2 separate regions of the Homo sapiens genome follow, and region 2 is linked to region 1. Evidence: promoter capture Hi-C in 16 types of primary human blood cells and fetal thymus (Javierre and others, 2016). All regions are on one chromosome and are shown on one strand. Each heading gives the region's core, a stretch centred on a gene start or on the middle of the fragment in contact. The rest is flanking DNA. Distances are from core to core; before and after follow the strand shown. Region 1 holds the start of FOXB1 (forkhead box B1). Region 2 holds the start of ONECUT1 (one cut homeobox 1).

The links. The method cuts DNA at HindIII sites, captures the fragments that hold promoters and counts their contacts. A CHiCAGO score of 5 or more calls a contact.
Region 2: a contact is called between the fragment with the promoter of ONECUT1 here and the fragment with the promoter of FOXB1 in region 1, in 2 of 17 cell types (total B cells and naive B cells). The highest score is 8.8, in total B cells.

What each region holds. Positions count from the first base shown.
Region 1 is chr15:60,002,443-60,006,192 of GRCh38, forward strand. FOXB1 (forkhead box B1) reads left to right here and starts at 1,869. Exons shown (of 2, transcript NM_012182.3): 1 at 1,869-2,201; 2 at 2,465-3,750. The coding sequence starts at 2,522. The coding sequence ends at 3,499. RefSeq lists an enhancer at 1,550-2,065. The HindIII fragment of the contact is 10,028 bases long and covers 1-3,750 here.
Region 2 is chr15:52,788,360-52,792,109 of GRCh38, forward strand. It overlaps ONECUT1 (one cut homeobox 1), which reads right to left and starts at 1,977. Exons shown (of 2, transcript NM_004498.4): 1 at 421-1,977. The coding sequence starts at 1,525. LOC105370824 (a long non-coding RNA gene) reads left to right here and starts at 2,071. Exons shown (of 2, transcript XR_001751550.2): 1 at 2,071-3,750. RefSeq lists enhancers at 1,973-2,267, 2,264-3,032, 3,033-3,750 and a silencer at 2,015-2,084. The HindIII fragment of the contact is 8,870 bases long and covers 1-2,434 here.

The DNA of each region.
Region 1 (3,750 bases), core at 619-3,118:
TTTTTCCGAATTAAGAAGGTGACATTATTCTTTTCTTCAAGCACTTCTGTTAATATTGAAAAACGTGCGCTTGCATCTCAACCGAGGCAGCCCAGAGCCAGAGCCATTTCAATATTAATGAAATTGTTTAATCTCCTAAATTCATCGTGTTTAAGTTACGTTTTGGTGAGTTATTGACCGCCTCCGAAACTGTAGTTAATGAAGTTGTGTGTGTGTGTGTTTGTGTGTGTGTGCATTCGCGCGCTGAAAGATCTTTTTTATGCTAACCCCAAACAGCTCCACTAATAATGCTCTAATATCACTTAAAGTGTTGAAACTTAACACCCAGAATTCTCTACGATCACCACGTCTAGGGAAAAAAAAAGTTCTCCCATTTCTGGACTTTGAAGATGATTCTGTGTGGGCTGTAAGTATTGAGTTTTTAACAACGCAGTAAAATGAATGTCTTTTAAAAACCTTAAAGGTCGGAGAATGTGCAGAAACCCGTGGGAACTCCTGGTGTGTACTTATAGAGTGCGTGCATGCAGGCGGGGTCGACTCACTATTTATTTCATAGCAATTTGATGATGATGATGATGACGGCAGCGACGACGATGAGGATAATGATAATAATAATAATGATTCATTTAACCCTTCCAAGGCGAATCCGAACCGAAGGGAGCCTGCTGCTCGCACCAGGCGGAGTGACCCAAGGCACATTCCCCGCTCCCCAAGAAGGAAAACTCTATGGTTCTTTCCCCAAGTTGTAGAAGATACTGCTGTCTTAGTGGGATCGCAGGCGGCTTTTGCTACACTCTAAATCCTAAATAAGTTCTCCATACCAAAAAAAGCGGCAGTTGGGGGATGGGGGGTGGGAGGTTGGGGGGGTGGGAGGGCTGGGAAGGGGAGTTCCGGGTGTAAAATGAAAACTTCCAGGATGTGCCTGAGTCCTAAAGTTTCAAACCACCTGGGAAAAGCGAGAGCCCCTGAGGCTTACCTGGTGATAAACTGTGTCAAACAAACTCAGGCCCTCCCCAGGTCCGCACAACATTTGCCCCAACAGCTCCTGAGCCTCCATCCTGTGTCCAACCAAATTCCCGGAGGACTTTTAAAGCAAATACCTGGACTCTTCGCCCAGATACACTATTTTAATTTTTAAAAATTTGGTCAATACAGTTACATTCAAAATGGGTTCTTACATGGGGATGTCCAATCACATTTTGAAAGTATTTGTAAACCCCATCACTTTTTCAAAGCTACACACTAACTATACAAAGCTGAAGCAGCTGCATAGGAAAGTCAAGTCAAATTTCGACCTAACTCTCCGGGGACTGGGGGGCAAGGGTGTGTTTTCATTATTATAACCCATGCAACCAACCCCGGGTAGTGCTAAGCGCAGGAAAAGGGTCGGCTTCAGGGGAAAGCCGTGCCTAAAGTTACCTAACGATACAAACCGGATACAACGCAGAGGAAACAGAATACCCCAGCCAAGCAATTTCCATGTCAAACATCATCCGCGCGGCTGCTCCATCTGTGAACGTGAGTGGTCGCCTGGCTCCCTCTTCCGCGGCGGCCGCTTCCTCATACCTTCACACGGCGCACACCGGCCGGCGCGTCCAGCTGCCTGCCCAGTGGCCGAGGCTCTTCCCCCTCGCCCAGTCTTGAGCTGGAAGTGATTCCTATTGGCCAAGGTGTCCATGTAAATAGGTGTGAAAGAAACCAGAGCTGGCCGGGCTCTCCCTTCTCGCTCAGTCCCCTCCCTCTGCAGCCCCCGCTCCCCCTCCTCTTCCTCCTCCTCCCAAGGCGATTGTCATATGATAGCTAAGAAGTGGCACATTAATGAAGCGCCGCTACAGGGGTCTTTTCTGCTCCTGTCACCGCTTAAAACTATCAGATGGTTCGAGGGAGGACATGGAGGCAGCCACCTAGCTCAGCGGAGACGCGGAGCCCACAGCAGCGCCCTCCGGAGCCCTAACACGTCGCTGCCACCATCCGCGCCGGGACTCCGCAGCCGAGCTCGGCCGCCCGCAGGACGCTCCAGGAGCGTCGCGGACCGGGCGGCACGGGACGCTGCGGGGCTGAGCTCAAGAGCCCAGGTTCGCGCCGAGTCCAACCGGACCCGGACGCTGCGCGCGGAGTGCGCGTCGAGTGCGCGCCGAGAGAGAAGCGGCGCGCAGCGGCGTCCTCCCGGATGCGGACGCGCAACTTGAAGCAACTTTAAGGTGAGCAGCTCTCTGTTCCGTCCCTGCCCCCTATTCTGGCCCCAGTACCGACTTACTTCCCGGCTATCCTCGCGCCGTTCGCCGGCTTCCCCTCCCGCGCCCACTAAGCCCGCAAAGTTGCTGGCGAAAGAGTCCGGGCGCTGGCTGATCGAGCGCCGCAGGCCCCACCCCCGACCCCCGAAGTCTGTTACTCGGTCTGGCTGACCCCGCCGGTGTCTCTGTGCATCCATGCTACCTTTCCCTATTACCCACCCCCTTCCCAGATCCGAGCAGTCCGCCGGCCCGCGCGGACCCAGAGCAAGAAGAGGGCGAGGAAGAAGATGCCTCGGCCCGGCCGCAACACGTACAGCGACCAGAAGCCGCCCTACTCGTACATCTCGCTGACCGCTATGGCCATCCAGAGCTCTCCCGAGAAGATGCTGCCGCTGAGCGAGATCTACAAGTTCATCATGGACCGCTTCCCCTACTACAGGGAGAACACGCAGCGCTGGCAGAACAGTCTGCGCCACAACCTCTCCTTCAACGACTGCTTCATCAAGATCCCGCGGCGGCCGGACCAGCCAGGCAAGGGCAGCTTCTGGGCGCTGCACCCAAGCTGCGGGGACATGTTCGAGAACGGCAGCTTCCTGCGGCGCCGCAAGCGCTTCAAGGTGCTTAAGTCCGACCACCTGGCGCCCAGCAAGCCAGCCGACGCGGCGCAGTACCTGCAGCAGCAGGCCAAGCTGCGGCTCAGCGCGCTGGCGGCCTCGGGCACGCACCTGCCACAGATGCCCGCCGCCGCCTACAACTTGGGCGGCGTGGCGCAGCCCTCGGGCTTCAAGCACCCCTTCGCCATCGAGAACATCATCGCGCGGGAATACAAGATGCCTGGGGGGCTGGCCTTCTCCGCCATGCAGCCGGTGCCCGCTGCCTACCCGCTCCCCAACCAGTTGACTACCATGGGCAGCTCGCTGGGCACCGGCTGGCCACACGTGTATGGCTCCGCCGGCATGATCGACTCGGCCACCCCCATCTCCATGGCGAGTGGCGACTACAGCGCCTACGGCGTGCCGTTGAAGCCGCTGTGCCACGCGGCGGGCCAAACGCTGCCCGCCATCCCCGTGCCCATTAAGCCCACGCCGGCCGCCGTGCCCGCGCTGCCTGCGCTGCCAGCGCCCATCCCCACCTTGCTCTCGAACTCGCCGCCCTCGCTCAGCCCCACGTCCTCGCAAACAGCCACCAGCCAAAGCAGCCCCGCCACCCCCAGCGAAACGCTCACCAGCCCGGCCTCCGCCTTGCACTCGGTGGCGGTGCACTGACCCGCAGGAGCCCACGCCCCCTCTCGTTCTCCTCCCCACCACCTCACTCGCCTTCCCTGGCTCCCAGTCCTGCCGGCCCCCACCTGGGACCGCCACCCTAACTTGTTCATTTCACCTTCGGCCAACCCGCCTTGCCCCAAGAGAACTTTGTTTTGGACCCAGGAGACCAAACACAAACTTGCAGATGGGCCGAGAGGCGCGTGGGAGTTGTCCTCGCCCCCACATCAAGGAAGGCCGGGGCCACCTGAGCC
Region 2 (3,750 bases), core at 727-3,226, 7.2 Mb before region 1:
GAGGTACCTGCGAGGAACATTTGCGTGCGATTCCACGCACGCGTTGCATCCCTCTTCCCAAACCCGGATCGCTGAACTGAGAGGTGGCGCAGAGTGTCTCACCAGGTGCGGGGATTTCTCTCCGCCTCAGGCCGTACGAGCTTCCCTCGCTGTCCCTGAGCGCAAATGAGCCTCTTCAGTCGCCGAGGCCCGGCCGCTTAGCTCTCGGAGCCTTCCACAGCCCAACACCCTGAGCCCTGGAGTAGGCAATTTGCTCCCACAGCCCTGTGCTGGCCCTTCCAGGCACAGGGAGTCCCCCTTCTAGGGGTAGGGGCGGGCGGGATGAAGCGCACCCAGCCCTCTCTCCTACCCTTCCTCCTTTGGTCCCTTCGGCTTTCGTGTACCTTATCTCCCGCGCGCCCAGCTCCTTGGCCGGCTCACCTGCTAAGCGGAGCGCGGACATGCGCTGGAACTCCGGCTCCTGCAGCCACTTCCACATCCTCCGGAAGGTCTCCCGGCCGGATTTGAGTTTGCTCCAGGGTTTGGGGTTGCGCAGCAGGTCCGAGAGGGTCCCCTGGGAGCGGCAGAGCACCCTCTGCGCGAAGATGGCCTGTGGGATGCTGTAGCGCTTGAGCTCGGTGGTGATACGCTGCGCCACCTCTTTGGTATTGATCTCTTCCATCTGCCCTGAATTACTTCCATTGCTGACCTGCGCGCCGGTCACCGAAGGGTTGGGCTCCCGGGCTGTGCCCAGGAGTTGCCCGTGGCCCTGGGCGTTCAGGTGGGCGTGGGGATGGTGCGGAGGAAGGCCGTTGATGGGCACCATGCCGGCCGAGGTGGGCGTGAGGTGCTGCTCCCCGTGGCGGCCGAGCATGGCCGGGTGGTGGGCTTCGAAGCCGTTGGGGGTGAGCATCTTGTCGGTGGGCATGGCGGCCCCCGGGTGGGCATAGTGGGGGAGCCCTTGCTGGGAGTTGTGGATGCTGCCCAGACCGGAGCTGGAGAGGGGCGAGAGGCTCTGGCCCATGCCGGCCACGTCCTTGTGGTAGGGGGTATAGAGGTTATTCATGGAGGCCAGCCCGCGCTCATCCCGCATGAGCGTGAAGCTACCGCTCACGTTGCCCGCCAGGCGCTGGTGGTGGTGCGGGTGGTGGTGGTGATGGTGGTGGTGGTGATGGTGGGGGAACTTGTCCGAGACTGTGGAGATGGGAGGCAGCGGCTGCAGAGGGGTCAAGGTGGTGTAGGTGGTGGGCATGCTCATACCTGGGGGAGTCTCGCAGGCCATGGTCATGGTGGGATGCAGGGGGCCGGCCAGGCTGTGCTCAGGGGCCCGGTGGTGGTGGTGGTAATCTCCGCCGCCGCTGCCGCCGTCCAGCAGGGACGCCATGCCCATGGAGCGCGGGTGCGCGGGGGGCAGGTGGCTGCCGCGGTGCGCCACGGAGCTGCGCGCGTGGGGGCTGCCGCCCAGCAGGTCGGCAGGGGCGGGCACCGGCTCATGGCTCACCCCGTGCAGCTCGCCGATCGCTTCCATGGTCAGCTGCGCGTTCATCGTGATCCGGGCGAGCAGGCGGCGGACACAACATCGATGTGGCCAGGCAGAGGCGGCGAGGGGCGCACGGAGTCCGGTCTTCACATCGGCTGCTGGCGACTGTTGCCTTCCTTCCTCTCACTGTGGGGCTCTGTCTCTCTCTCTCTCTCTCTCCGTGTGTGTGTGTCCGTGTGTGCGTGTGCGTGTGTGTGTGTGTGTGTGTCTCGCCTTCCCTCTTACCCCCCACCTTCCCCTCTGCGTCCTCGGCTTTTTTTTTTTTAATATTAATTTCCAAAGAGGATCCGCGCCGTTGGGAGAGCGCAGTGCCCCAGCCCGCCCGCCTCGGCCACCTCTCGCCCCTCTCTTTCTTAAAATTCTGAGGTCTCCGGCTCCCCTGCCGCGGCCCGCGCGCCTGCCGCGTCTGCTGCCTGCCCGCCCCGCTGGCCAGCTTGAGCCATGGCTCTGTTACTGTTACAGACTCTGTGGCCGCGGTTCGGTAGCCGCCGCCGCCGCCGCCGCAGCGGCCCGCCCTCACGCCCGCCAGGCGCAGCGCGCATGCGCGAGGCCCGCCCCCGCCCCCTAGGTCGCGGCGCGCCAGGCCCTTGGCGTCCCGGTACAAATGAAGGAGGGGGCCCAGCGCCTTCCCTGCGGCGCTGGATGGCCAGGGAGCTGCGGGCACGTGCGAAAGATTGGCGCAGAGCGCGACCTGGGGCCGCCGCTGCAATCCCAGGAGACTCGCGCCTGGCTCGCTCGCCTCCCTTGCTTGAGTGGGCTCTGTCCTCCCAGCCCGGGGACGCTCGTGTCGGGCTTCTAGCGGCTGGAGTGCTGTGCTTGGAGACATCGCCCCTCTCTCTCCAGTTGCTGCTTCCCGGTGCAGCTTGCCCGGGGAGCTGGGGACTGTGTCATCACCCCTTCGGCTCTAGCCCACTAAGCTTTATTTCCCGGGGGGCTGCTGGGAGTGCGCTTTCCCACCCTTGAATTCACGGCCTATTGGGGGATGGGGGTTGGGGTGGGGTGGGGTGCAGATTGCTTAAAGGGCTGGGTCCGTTTGGCGGCCGTTGACCCGGCACCCTTCGTCCTCCCAGATACATACTTGCCCACCCTTTCTCATCCATGCCCTGGGGAGAGGAGTAATCAGTGCCAAGAATCCCAGTTCGGGCCATACCTCACTGTCCCCCGCCGCCTGGCTCCTTCTCCCGCTCAGCTCATAATTAAGGCTGTGCGTCCGCTTCGCCGATGACTCGGCCTGTGGAGGGGGGCGAGGGAGAGCGGAGGGAGTGCCCTGGAGGGTACCCATGTTAACTTCCGGGTGCTGGTGGGGCCGTGGAGGCTCGGGCCGTCCCTGCGGTTACTCCCAAGGCCCTCCTGCTAAAGCACCCGGAGGCGGTTGCTTTCCAGAAGTACTGACGCAGACAGGGTGGACGCCGGCGCGCGGGTCTCCGCTTGGCCCCTAGGGACGCCCTTTTCCCGGCGTCCCCGAGAGACGCCTCCAGATTTGAAAATCAATTCAGCTTCGGGAGTAATTTCGCCCTTCCCACAGTCACGCTCCAATCTGGAATCGAACCTGGTCTTTGGGCCTGGTGGGGACGTGTGCGGAGGCCCCCAGTTTGAGACGTACACCCGGCCGCCACATGCCGCGGCTTTCTTTCATTTACAAAAGAAAGAAAAAAAATCCGCAACAAAAGGCAGAGCCGTGTCCGCTTAGGTGCTTTCATCCCTCAGAGAAAGGACAGATGTGCCCATTGTCCAGCCCGTGGCAGTTATGGCCGGGTCAGCGCCGAGCCTCAGCCCCAGGCAAGCGGTGGTTACAATGAGAATAGCCTCTCAGAGCCGGGGTATCTGGACTCAGATATGGAATAAAGTGTGTGTAGCCTGTGCTGGGCCAGACTCAGACTGTAGGTTTGCTTGCTGGGGCACCGAACTGCAGCCCACCCGTGGTGTTTCCACTGCAAATGCTCCCAAGCCCTTAGAGAGGCCAAGGCTGTGGTAGTGGTGGTAGTTGGGTTTCCAAGGCAAAAGTTTGGGCTGGCCAACCCTTTGGGAAAAGTTCCCACCGGCCCAGGCATGAGTAGGCCTATCTCTTTGCCCAGGTCCCTGCTACCACCAGGGCAACATCCTAATCCAGGTAGGTCAAGTTCAGTGGATACAGTCAACGTGACTTCCTTGAAGGCGGCCATGTCCTGGGACTGGTTAATCTAGCTGGTTTTATCACCAGAGGCACTCCCATCCTGTCCAAACAATGCATA